Regions from separate parts of the Homo sapiens genome. Here regions 1 and 2 are each linked to region 3. Evidence: promoter capture Hi-C in 16 types of primary human blood cells and fetal thymus (Javierre and others, 2016). All regions are on one chromosome and are shown on one strand. The core of a region is centred on a gene start or on the middle of the fragment in contact, and the rest is flanking DNA. Distances in the headings are between cores, read along the strand shown.

Region 1 (3,424 bases), core at 791-3,290, 300 kb before region 3:
AGCGCACCTGCCACCCAGAGGCAGAGCCTAAGAACCTCTTCTTGCAGCATCAGAGGACAAAGAGGGGTTCCCAGCACGAGGGCCTGAAAGCCCCCAACTCTCTGACCCAGAGTCTTCCCTGGAAGGCGTTATGTCATCTCTCTCAAAAATGCCACCAGGGCTTAACCAGTTCACCACCTGGAAGTTCTTCCTGGGAGTTAATCTCTTCTAAGTCAGTTTACCTGGTGTCATGGAAAATGCTTGAAGAGTCCAGATTCTGCTGCCACTTGTTAACATTGTGCCCTTGGATAAAGCACTCACCTCCTCTGTAGAGTGGCGAGGTTAAAGCTCACCTTACTATGAGGATTAAAAGAACCCTTTAACAGAAAGGCACCCCACACTGAACAGCTACTGCTGTTCAATCACACCAAGCCAGGTGGACCTTTTTAGAAAGGCAAACTGTAAAAGTTGAAAAATAAAGCATGTGCCAATTATTCAAACCCTACAACAACAATGCAATTAGAATAATAGTCACCTGCAATATGAGAGTAGGAATGTCCTGTGCTCCAACCCCCTTATTTTACTGATGAGGCCAAGGAGGTTCCCTGACTGCCTGAGAGCTCACAGTGGCAGAGAAGAGCTCAAACTCCGATCTTCTGCGCTGCAGGGGGTGTCTTCTCTCCCTTTGACAATTATAGGAACATCCCTCTCCCAGCGATGAGGTTGGCCCACTACTCCACTCAGCTTCTTTTGTCTAATAACTTGGCCACACCCTTGGTAGGTCCTATCTTATGCTATCCTTGGTCTCTCATGCTATTAGAAATTCCACATTTTTTTTTCCCGATCCTTTCTGGTGGGCATCTCTCTAGTGTGACTCCTCTCTTGAGGTTTTGGCTCTGGAGGGCTCTTTCCAACCCCAGAACATGTTCCTAGTCAGAGCCTTTTCTCCCAGTCTCTCACATCACTGCCACATGGTGGTTGCCTGGATTCAGTGGAGAAGGTGGCTGCAAACTCTAGTTGGACACTGACTACACAGATGGTTTCAACCAAACCCAGACTGTGCACTGCCTGCCTCCCCATAAAGCCTGTGAGGATGGGGACCATGACTCTTGCTCACCCCTGGATCCTGAGCCCCAGGAACAGTGGCTTGGACAAAATACTCTAGACCCTGCTCAGTGGCCAAATCACTGTGTGGTATAGAAAGAGTTCTGTGCCATCCACGAGACCCACTTCCAGACAGTTTTCCAGCACCACACTTATTAGCCCTGCCTTGATGGAGACAGCATCTCCTTGGCATTTAAGCAGTTATTTGGCTTCAAATGCCCTGAGCGCCCACACAGTGGTCCTTTGCTCACTAGGTGATATTATCACTCAGTGTGGAAGGCTCTGCCCCTCGTTCTGCTTTTGTGTTTTCAGTTAATCTCCCCCATCAGTCTGGTAGCTCCCGGTCCCATTTTTGTCTTTCTGTCTGTGTCCTAGAAGTATGACTACCTTTCCCTTTGGCCTGGGAACTTCTGTGGGCAAGTTCTTGCCTTTGACTTCCCTGTCAGTGCCCAGCCTGAGTTCTGAACATGAGTAGGGGTTCAGGAAGGGTGTGATCCAGGACGACACCCACCTTGTCGATGAAGGCCGCGAATCTGCTGTTGAGGGACTTGATCTGCTCCTTCTCCTCCTGCTTCACGCACTGCGCGTTGGGGTCTATCTCCAGGTTGAGGGGCGTGAGGAGGCTCTCGTTGACCGACACGGTGGTGATGCATGGGGGGCTGGGTCCGCACACGCCCCCGGAGCGGTAGCCGAAGCTGCGTCCGCAGGAGCCGGCGCGGAAGCCCCCGCACACGCTGTGGCTGCCAAAGCCCCCGGTGAGGCCGCGGTAGCAGGAGATGCCGCGGTAGGGGGCGGCGGTGATGCAGCAGCGGCTTGGCCGGGGCCCGCAGGCAGAGACACAGCTGAAGTTTCCAGGGCGGAACCCACAGCCTATGGAGTTGAAGCCACAGGTCATGACGGAGGTTAGGAGGTGTCTGAACAGTGGAGTAGATGGCAGAGGATGGAACCAAGGGCCTGTGCTCCCTGGCTGATGGCAGGCCCTTTTATGTGCCAGGGGCAGCTGGTGTTAAAAGAGGGAGCAAAGAGACAATAGCTGAATTTTATTGGCTTGGCATCACCCTGGCCTCTTAAGCTAGAACCCTGCTTGCCTCTTCAGTGTGGCTGCATCAACAATCCCTGGCCACGGGCCCTGTTTCATCTTCAAAGCCCTTTATAAGCTTCCTCCTTGCTCCTGCCCCTCCCACTGGCACTGCTGTGGAGCGGGGAGAGGGGTTCCTGAAAGCATTAGTTGCATTCTGCGGTCCAAGCGAGGGGAATGGGTGCAGTGACCTGGGGTAAAGCCTGCTCTCTGAACCCTGTTCTGAAAGGGGCAGAGCTAGGCTATGGGCCCTGGACCCATGGCCAAGCCCTGGGGTGGAGTGGCTGGCCTGTCCCAAGGAGGGGGCTGCCTCTGAGACAACCTCTTGCTGTAGGCTTTCCTGTCTTTTTCTCAAAGGCGGGTTCCTTTCCTCATTGTCAAGATTGGCCGCTCCTATCCTATTCCTGCTCAGAGCCTGGTCAAGGATGGGAGTGGGGGTAGAGATTTGGGGTGGGAGGAGGGCATGTTCTTTGCACTTTGGGTATTCCTAGTGCAGGGACACCATCTGGGACATGGAAGAAACTGATTCAGAGAGTTCAGGACAGTGCCAGGGCTATGCTTCAGAGTTCCAGGTGTCATTGCTGATGGGATCAGGAGCGGGGAGTGTGGAATACCTCAGAGCTCCAGGGACTCATGGAGGAGAGTGGGGACCTGGGCTTGAGGAGGATTGGGGTGGGGTAGTACAGGATTGAGAGATGACCAGAAAAGAGTCTGGCTCTGATTTGCAGACTAGACTATGTGTATTCATTTATTCATTTATTCATTTATTCATTTATTCAGGAAATACTTATTTGGTGCCCACCAACTATGCACTAGCCACTGTGCTAGGTTCTGGAAATCCTACAGAGACCTGGGGTGTTTGGAGGTAGCATGCATGTGGGGGAGCCAACATTTGGCTAGGGGGAAAGATGAGAAGCCACAGATGGGGGGAAGGCCCTCACAATGTCCAGGCTGATTGGTGTTCTTTAGGTTCCCAGCAGGGAAGCTCAGTGATGGGGTCTTGGGGTGTATGTACTCACCAGGAAGGAGGGAAGGTGCGGGAGGTGAGGGACATCAGCAGGGTCCTTAAATGAGATCACTCTCTCACCTCAGAGAACACACTGGGTGAGAGAAGGGTGCTAGCTCATGTGGCTGTTCCTAAAGCCAAGCTCTCTTACTTTGGGCCCTTGTTCCTTTGGGTTAGGACAGGCAATGGCTTTGATGGATGGACAGTCGGACCGAGCCAGGAGGTTTGCCTTAACCCGAGGACCTGAGCCCATCAAC
Region 2 (3,021 bases), core at 177-2,676, 340 kb before region 3:
AAAGGAATTATATCAACTTTAGGGAAGTGGTTACCTCTGGGGTGGTTAGGAGAGGACAGGGTAGGGAAGGAGCATGGAGCTAAATGTAAATTACTAGTAAGATTTTAGTTTTGGGATCAGTAAGTAGGTTCATGAGTATTTCATTTTCATTATATTATAATAATAAAGTAATATGCTAGTTATAAGAAATAAACTTAAAACATGAGGACATAAGTTGAAAGTAAAAGAATGTGTTAAGGTGATTGGTTAGATCAGATTGCCTTACACATAGTAGAAGTAAATGATTTTTCCATGAAACTTATTTCAGTAGATGTGGTGTATTTGTACGTAGGTAGTGATTCATGATACAACATATATTTCTTATTTAGAGTTGAGGTTAAAAAACAGTTTGACAACTAGTACCCCAAAGAACCTCTTGTTGAGGTCCACCAGCAGATATGTACAAGAAAGTTCATGGCAGCATTGTTTGTTACAACAAAAACAAAAAACACATGTGCTACCTATAGGAAAATAGAGATATATGTATATGTGTGTGTCTATATCTGTATCTATCTATATATATGTAGTCATACTTTGGAATACTATACAACACTGAGAAATAAAACTACATGCATCAAAAAGATGAATCTCAAAACTAGTATGTTGAGGAGGAAAAAGCAAGTCATAGAAATGTACAAGGTGTAATTCTATTTATATAAAACTTAAAGGTAGGCAAAACTCAACACTAGTTTATGGATACACGTTATGACATAGTAATAAAGAAAAGCAAGGGAATGACCAATATAAAAACTCAGGACAGTGGTTACTTTGGGGATCAGATGGGGTTGGAGATGGATCAGCAAAAATCCCGCAGGGGGCTTTGAAGGTACTGGTGGGTACACAAGGATTTGTTTTATTATTGTTGCTATTGAAATCAATAAATGTAGGTTTTGCATACTCTTTTGCATATATGAGAAATTTATAAAACAAAAAGAAAATGCTGACCACAGCTTGTGCTCTCTAGCCCCTACTCATTCCTACAGGTTAAAGTCATTGCCCTACCCAAGATTTCCTACCAAGTCTTGGGACTGGCATCCCCAGTCCCAATTTCTTGCCCTCCTGTCAATCTTCTGCACTGCTTCTAGACAATCACATCTCATGTCAGGCCACTGTCCTGCTCAGACACCCTCTGTGGCTCCCCAGTGCCCATCCATAAGCCTAAGCTCCTCAGCTCCACACATTTCCTCCACCTGAGGTAGCCTTCCCCTCCTCCACTTTCCTTTAAGTTCCACTTCAGCCCAGAAACTTCCATTTTCCCACCTGGGGTCAGAGTATGGCCCTCTTCTACCCTATGCCCCTGAGGCCTCCTGGGCAGAACTCTGTGATTGTAATGAGATGAGGTCACAGAGCCCCCAGGAAGAAGAGGCCCTAGTCCTCAGTGGCAAGGATTCTGGTAGCTCTTGGGCTGAAGCTGGGCTTTGGTGCTCAAGAGAGGCTTGGAGGAGACCACAGTTCTTTCTCCATGGTGAGACTCATACACGTGGCTCCCTGGTCACACAGGGATGAGGTGTCTTGGACTTCACCCAGATCTGTTGGGCATACAGCTTTTGGGAACAGGAGCAGAAAAGTTGGGGGCAGTGGGAACACAGCAGAAATTGAGATGATGTTTTGAGGTCTGTTCCCCCACACTCCATCTGCCCTAGAAGAAAGTTTGCAATGGGCTGGTGTGAACAGTTCTTGCTCTCTGGGTTGAGGGGGTGTGTATAACCTTGGTGGAGAGCAAAGAGCATGGGCTTAAAATGTAGTCTGGCTCAACTGTCGGCTGGCAGGGTCACTCACTCCCCTCTTGCACGTGGTGGATGGAATGAGCCCCAGTTTGCCTGAGGAAAGACAATGGGAAAAGTCACATCCATCTGGCCAACTTCATGGGTGGTTGTGAGGCCCCAGTGAGATCGTGGAGTAAAAGCTTGTGAAAAGCATCAGGCACTGTGCAAGTGTGAGTTATTGTTCCCTGGCTATTCGTGTATTGAATGCACATGGGGGCGAGGTGCAAGAAGGGAAGTGGTCCCCTGATTTCATAGACAGCACTTCCCATAGCAGCCTTGGGTTTGGGGAAGAAGCTGGAATCTAGATCACTGTCCCTGGTTTCTGATTAATGGCATTCAAATTAAGGACATTTCTTCCTAATCCTAGATTTTAAAATGTGTTTTTTAAATTAGGAAATATTGAATTTCATTAATTTTTTTTGTACTAATTTAAATGGTTAGATGTTGTAAACTACAATAATCAGTTTCCTAGAGTTTAACTCTCCCTGTTCCTGGGATAAACCCTATGTGATCTTGGTCCCAAAGCTCCCCTCAACAGATCACTGCCCTGTGTTGCTGCCCTTCCTGCCTGAGTTCAGGCTTCCTTTGGCATCTTCTGGCCCCATGGGCACAAGGCAAGCTCACTGTGTTCTTTCAACAACCTTTGGAGATAGGAAAAATGATCACTCCCATTTCACAGATGGAGAAAGGGATGCCCAGAGAAGCTAGGTGACCACTGGTGACAGCAGGTGGATGGGCAGCCCTGTCTGGCCTCCTCACCTCCTGACTACAGCTCCCCTCTGCCGTCTGCTCCACAGTGTGAGGAATTAAAGGCAACTGTGCAGAAACACACGCAGAGCCTGAAGCCCAGCAAGGAGGATCTGAACAGGCTTAATCAGGCCATCCAGTGGCTGACGGTGGAGGTGGGCAGTGCTGAGAGTCAGGTGAGAGGTGGGAGTGGGGGGCAACAGAGTGGCCATGGTGGGATGGTGACCATTATTTATGACAACTGCCCCTCCCCACCTACCCTTTGGATTAGATGGCTACACTTTCTCTTAGTGAATGTCTAAGCATACAGCAGTGCAGCTGCATGCATATATCATGCTTACCTCTGCCTAGGACATTGTGTATTTTATGTAAGTAATGAACATGTAGGTAAATCTGTATGAAGATATATGCTTGTTTGTACATTATTATCTTTTTACTTGTGTATGTTCATTTTTATGTCTGTGTTTTG
Region 3 (3,235 bases), core at 601-3,100:
TCCAAGGCAGCCCCTTAGACACAAGCTGGCCTGTGCTAGCCTTCACACTGTCAGGCCTTCTGCTCGGGGTCTGGTGGCCCGTGCTCTGCCTAGTCTCTCCCTCCTTGTGCGTGGGCTCTCCCAGCCCAGCCAGAGGCAGATGTTCAGCTTATCTGGGGTCTCCGGCCCTCCTAAGTTGCTTTCATGTCTGAATCTCTACTATCTCAATCACAGCATTGTCCCAGCAGCAGAACAAGCATTCTCAAGTTGCAACCTACAAATATATCATTCCCTTGCTTAAAACCCTCAGGTGGTTCCACATCACCCTCAGGGTCAAGTCCATATTCCTTATCACACTCTTCATAATGTGCCCAGCCCTCCTGGCTTCCTTCTTTACTCATACAGTGATGTCGTAAACCGAAGGTCTCCCATTCCCCAGACAAGTTCTACCATGCTGCACGTGCTGTCTCCCTAGATTGCCTTTTCCCCACCTCCATCTGAAAACTCCTACTCATGCCTCACCACCCTACCTCACTGTCGCTCCGGGTGAGCTTCCCCTGCTCCTCTAAGCTTAGGAAGTCTCTGCTTCCCAATACCTTCCTACCACTTTGTTCCTCAGTGATTCTCAAACCTGAGTGTACATCAGCATCACCTGGAGAGCTTGTTAAAATGCAGGGTGCTGGGCCCTGCTGCAGAGTCTCTGATTCAGTTGCTCTGGGGTGGAGCCTGAGAGTGTGCATTCTAACAAGCGTCCAGGTGACGTTGCTGCTGCTGGTTCCAGGGCCACCTTTGAGAACCACTGCTCTAGGGCACCGTGACCTCCAGCTGCCTTGCCTCATAGGCTGTGTGTGTTACGGACTGAGTCTGAGCTTTCAGGGGACACAGGAGGAACAGCTGGGTCGCATGGCAGTCTAGATGCCCCAGGCTGTCAAGGGCATCTCCTTCGCCTAGCTTCTAAGTCTCACAGGCTGTCACTCTGCTACTTCTCAACTCAGAGACCGCTCTCATTGCTTCCTGGACACCTTCCTGGGCTAGGCTGCTGGCTCCTCTCACCCCTCCAACCCTGGTCCCTTGCCTCTGATGTCCAGGCTTTGTCCAGTTCCTCCCTGGGCTATGTCTGCATCCTGGGGAGGTGTCCTGCCTTCGTCTGCTTCAGACAGGGAGCACCCCAAGGACAATGAAGGCGGGGGAAGGAAGGGGCTCTACGGCATGAGCAAGCCTTATGGGCCCAGCACCTGGGGAGCTTTCAAGTTGTTTACCTGGTGTCTGATTTTGCTGGGAGAAAATGATTTCTTGCTCTCAGGCAAATTGAACCACAAATTAGGGCAGTGGCTCCCTCCTGAGTCCTTAAAAGGGGAGCCCAAGATCAGCTTTCTCCAGAAAGACCCACCTTGTCAATGAAGGAGGCGAACTTGTTGTTCAGCACCTTGATCTGCTCCCGCTCCTGGGCACGCACTTTCTGGATTTCAGGGTCCAGCTCCACGTTCAGGGGTGCCAGGAGGCTCTTGTTGATGGTGACCTGATGGATACCCCCGGGCGGGCACAACGACGGACACACGGACCCCAAGGCCACACTGCCAAACATGCTGCCAGCAAAGCCACTGGCCCGGCCCCGGCCAAATCCATAGCCTCCTGCCCACCCACTGCCACTGGCCACATTGAAAGAGATGCTCCGGGCACCCCCCAGGCTGTAAAGGCTCCGACTGCTGAAGCCTCCACTGAGCCCTTTGCCCCCTGCTCGGTAGGAGGATGAGCTGCCCCCTGAGAGCACAGCGGAGCAGCCGCTGAAGCCCCCCTTGGCAGCAGCTCCCGACTTGTAGGTGAATTGGCGGCTCATGGTGGGGAGGCCAGAAAGTGGGGATAAGATGCTGACCCTTAGCTGAGATGCAGTTCACCAGCCTGTGATCCTGGGCTCCCACTTTATAGGACTCAAGAGGGAGCCATGGGCCTAATTTGTGGGTTCAGTTTGCCTGGAAGCAAGAAATCATTTTCTCCCAGCAAAATCAGACACCAGGTAAATGACTTGAAAACTCCCAAAGTGCTAGTCTTGCAAGTCTTGCTCATGTAATTTGAGTTTTATCTAATGAACATGTGTAATTAGCATGGGCACATTATCCATAGAAAGATCTTAGGTGGGAGGTTTGTCGCAGTCTCAATTGCTGTTCCCCAGGGAGTGGTGGGGCCTGGGATTGTAGGGGTACAGAGGGGAGACCTTTAATTGACAGTGTCATCTGTTAGAAATCTCACAACCATGCCAGCATCAGATGGGCTGCTTCAGGGACCCTGGCTGAGCTGCTTTTATGTGGTTAAGAAGAGGCTGCTGCTGCCTGGCTTCCCAGAGTTCCTGGAGACAGGTTTGATGGCTGGCCAGGGCCATAGGAGAGGAGCACACTGGGAATCCAGGACCAGCCTCTGGCTGCCAGCCCCCTGCTGTGCCCTCCCAGGCAGCTCTCCTGCTCCTCTGTGCCAGCCGGGCTGCCCTGCTCACCTTCCTTTGCACACACTGACTTCTTTTTCCCTTTACCATCCCACTACCCTGACTCTTGACCTTGAAATTATGGTCATTGCACCATTCACGATGGCTGACACTGGTGCAGCACTTTACAGTGTAACAGAGCTCCTCACACAAGAAGCTCATTTAATCCACTTAGTCTGCATGGAGGGGAATGGTGATGATCCACATTACACAAATGGGGAAACCAAGGTTCAGATAATTGAGGATGTCATTCCTTTAGCAAACATTTAGTGAGTCCTTTCTTTGTGTGAATCCCAGAGAATGAAAATGCCCCCAAAAAGCACAGGCCCCAGCCTTGAGGACTCCCTTGGCTGGTCTTCTGACTCCACATTCAGAGCTATGCCCGCCTTATTCATTCGTCCATCTATCCGTCCAACCAGCCAGCCAGCCATCTACTTGTTCATTCATTTATCCATTCGTTTAACAGACTTCTCTTGAGGGCTGACTCTCTCCCAGGTACTGTGCTAGGCTCTTGGGTCCCGAATTATGAAGACCAAACCTAGCTCACAATTTTGGAGATGGGGAGGTAGGGGAAGACATTTGAATTTCATGGATCCTTGACATTGCCAAAGTATGTGACCCAAGAGTTTCCCAAATCCCAAATCCCAAATATATCCATAGTATAGAATTTCCTCCATAAAAACACAAGTATTTCACTAGCTGGAGTACTTGAATGAACAGTTGGCCCATCCTTCTTTTCTATTTCTGTATAGAGGTTATGATATGCCTCTAAAATTGTTG

Evidence for each region. The method cuts DNA at HindIII sites, captures the fragments that hold promoters and counts their contacts. A CHiCAGO score of 5 or more calls a contact.
Region 1: a contact is called between the fragment with the promoter of KRT83 here and the fragment with the promoter of KRT73 in region 3, in 6 of 17 cell types (total B cells, M2 macrophages, neutrophils and 3 more). The highest score is 8.6, in total B cells.
Region 2: the fragment with the promoter of KRT86 here is called in contact with the fragment with the promoter of KRT73 in region 3 in 2 of 17 cell types (neutrophils and M2 macrophages); the score reaches 7.3 in neutrophils.

Annotation. Positions count from the first base shown.
Region 1 is chr12:52,319,358-52,322,781 of GRCh38, forward strand. It overlaps KRT83 (keratin 83), which reads right to left and starts at 2,041. Exons shown (of 9, transcript NM_002282.3): 1 at 1,595-2,041; 2 at 1-7. The coding sequence starts at 1,978. The HindIII fragment of the contact is 9,694 bases long and covers 1-2,238 here.
Region 2 is chr12:52,273,219-52,276,239 of GRCh38, forward strand. It overlaps KRT86 (keratin 86), which reads left to right and starts at 1,427. Exons shown (of 11, transcript NM_001320198.2): 1 at 1,427-1,504; 2 at 2,603-2,728. It overlaps KRT86-AS2 (KRT86 antisense RNA 2), which reads right to left. Exons shown (of 2, transcript NR_199073.1): 2 at 1-1,859. The HindIII fragment of the contact is 3,258 bases long and covers 1-1,943 here.
Region 3 is chr12:52,616,709-52,619,943 of GRCh38, forward strand. KRT73 (keratin 73) reads right to left here and starts at 1,851. Exons shown (of 9, transcript NM_175068.3): 1 at 1,370-1,851. The coding sequence starts at 1,816. The HindIII fragment of the contact is 4,368 bases long and covers 548-3,235 here.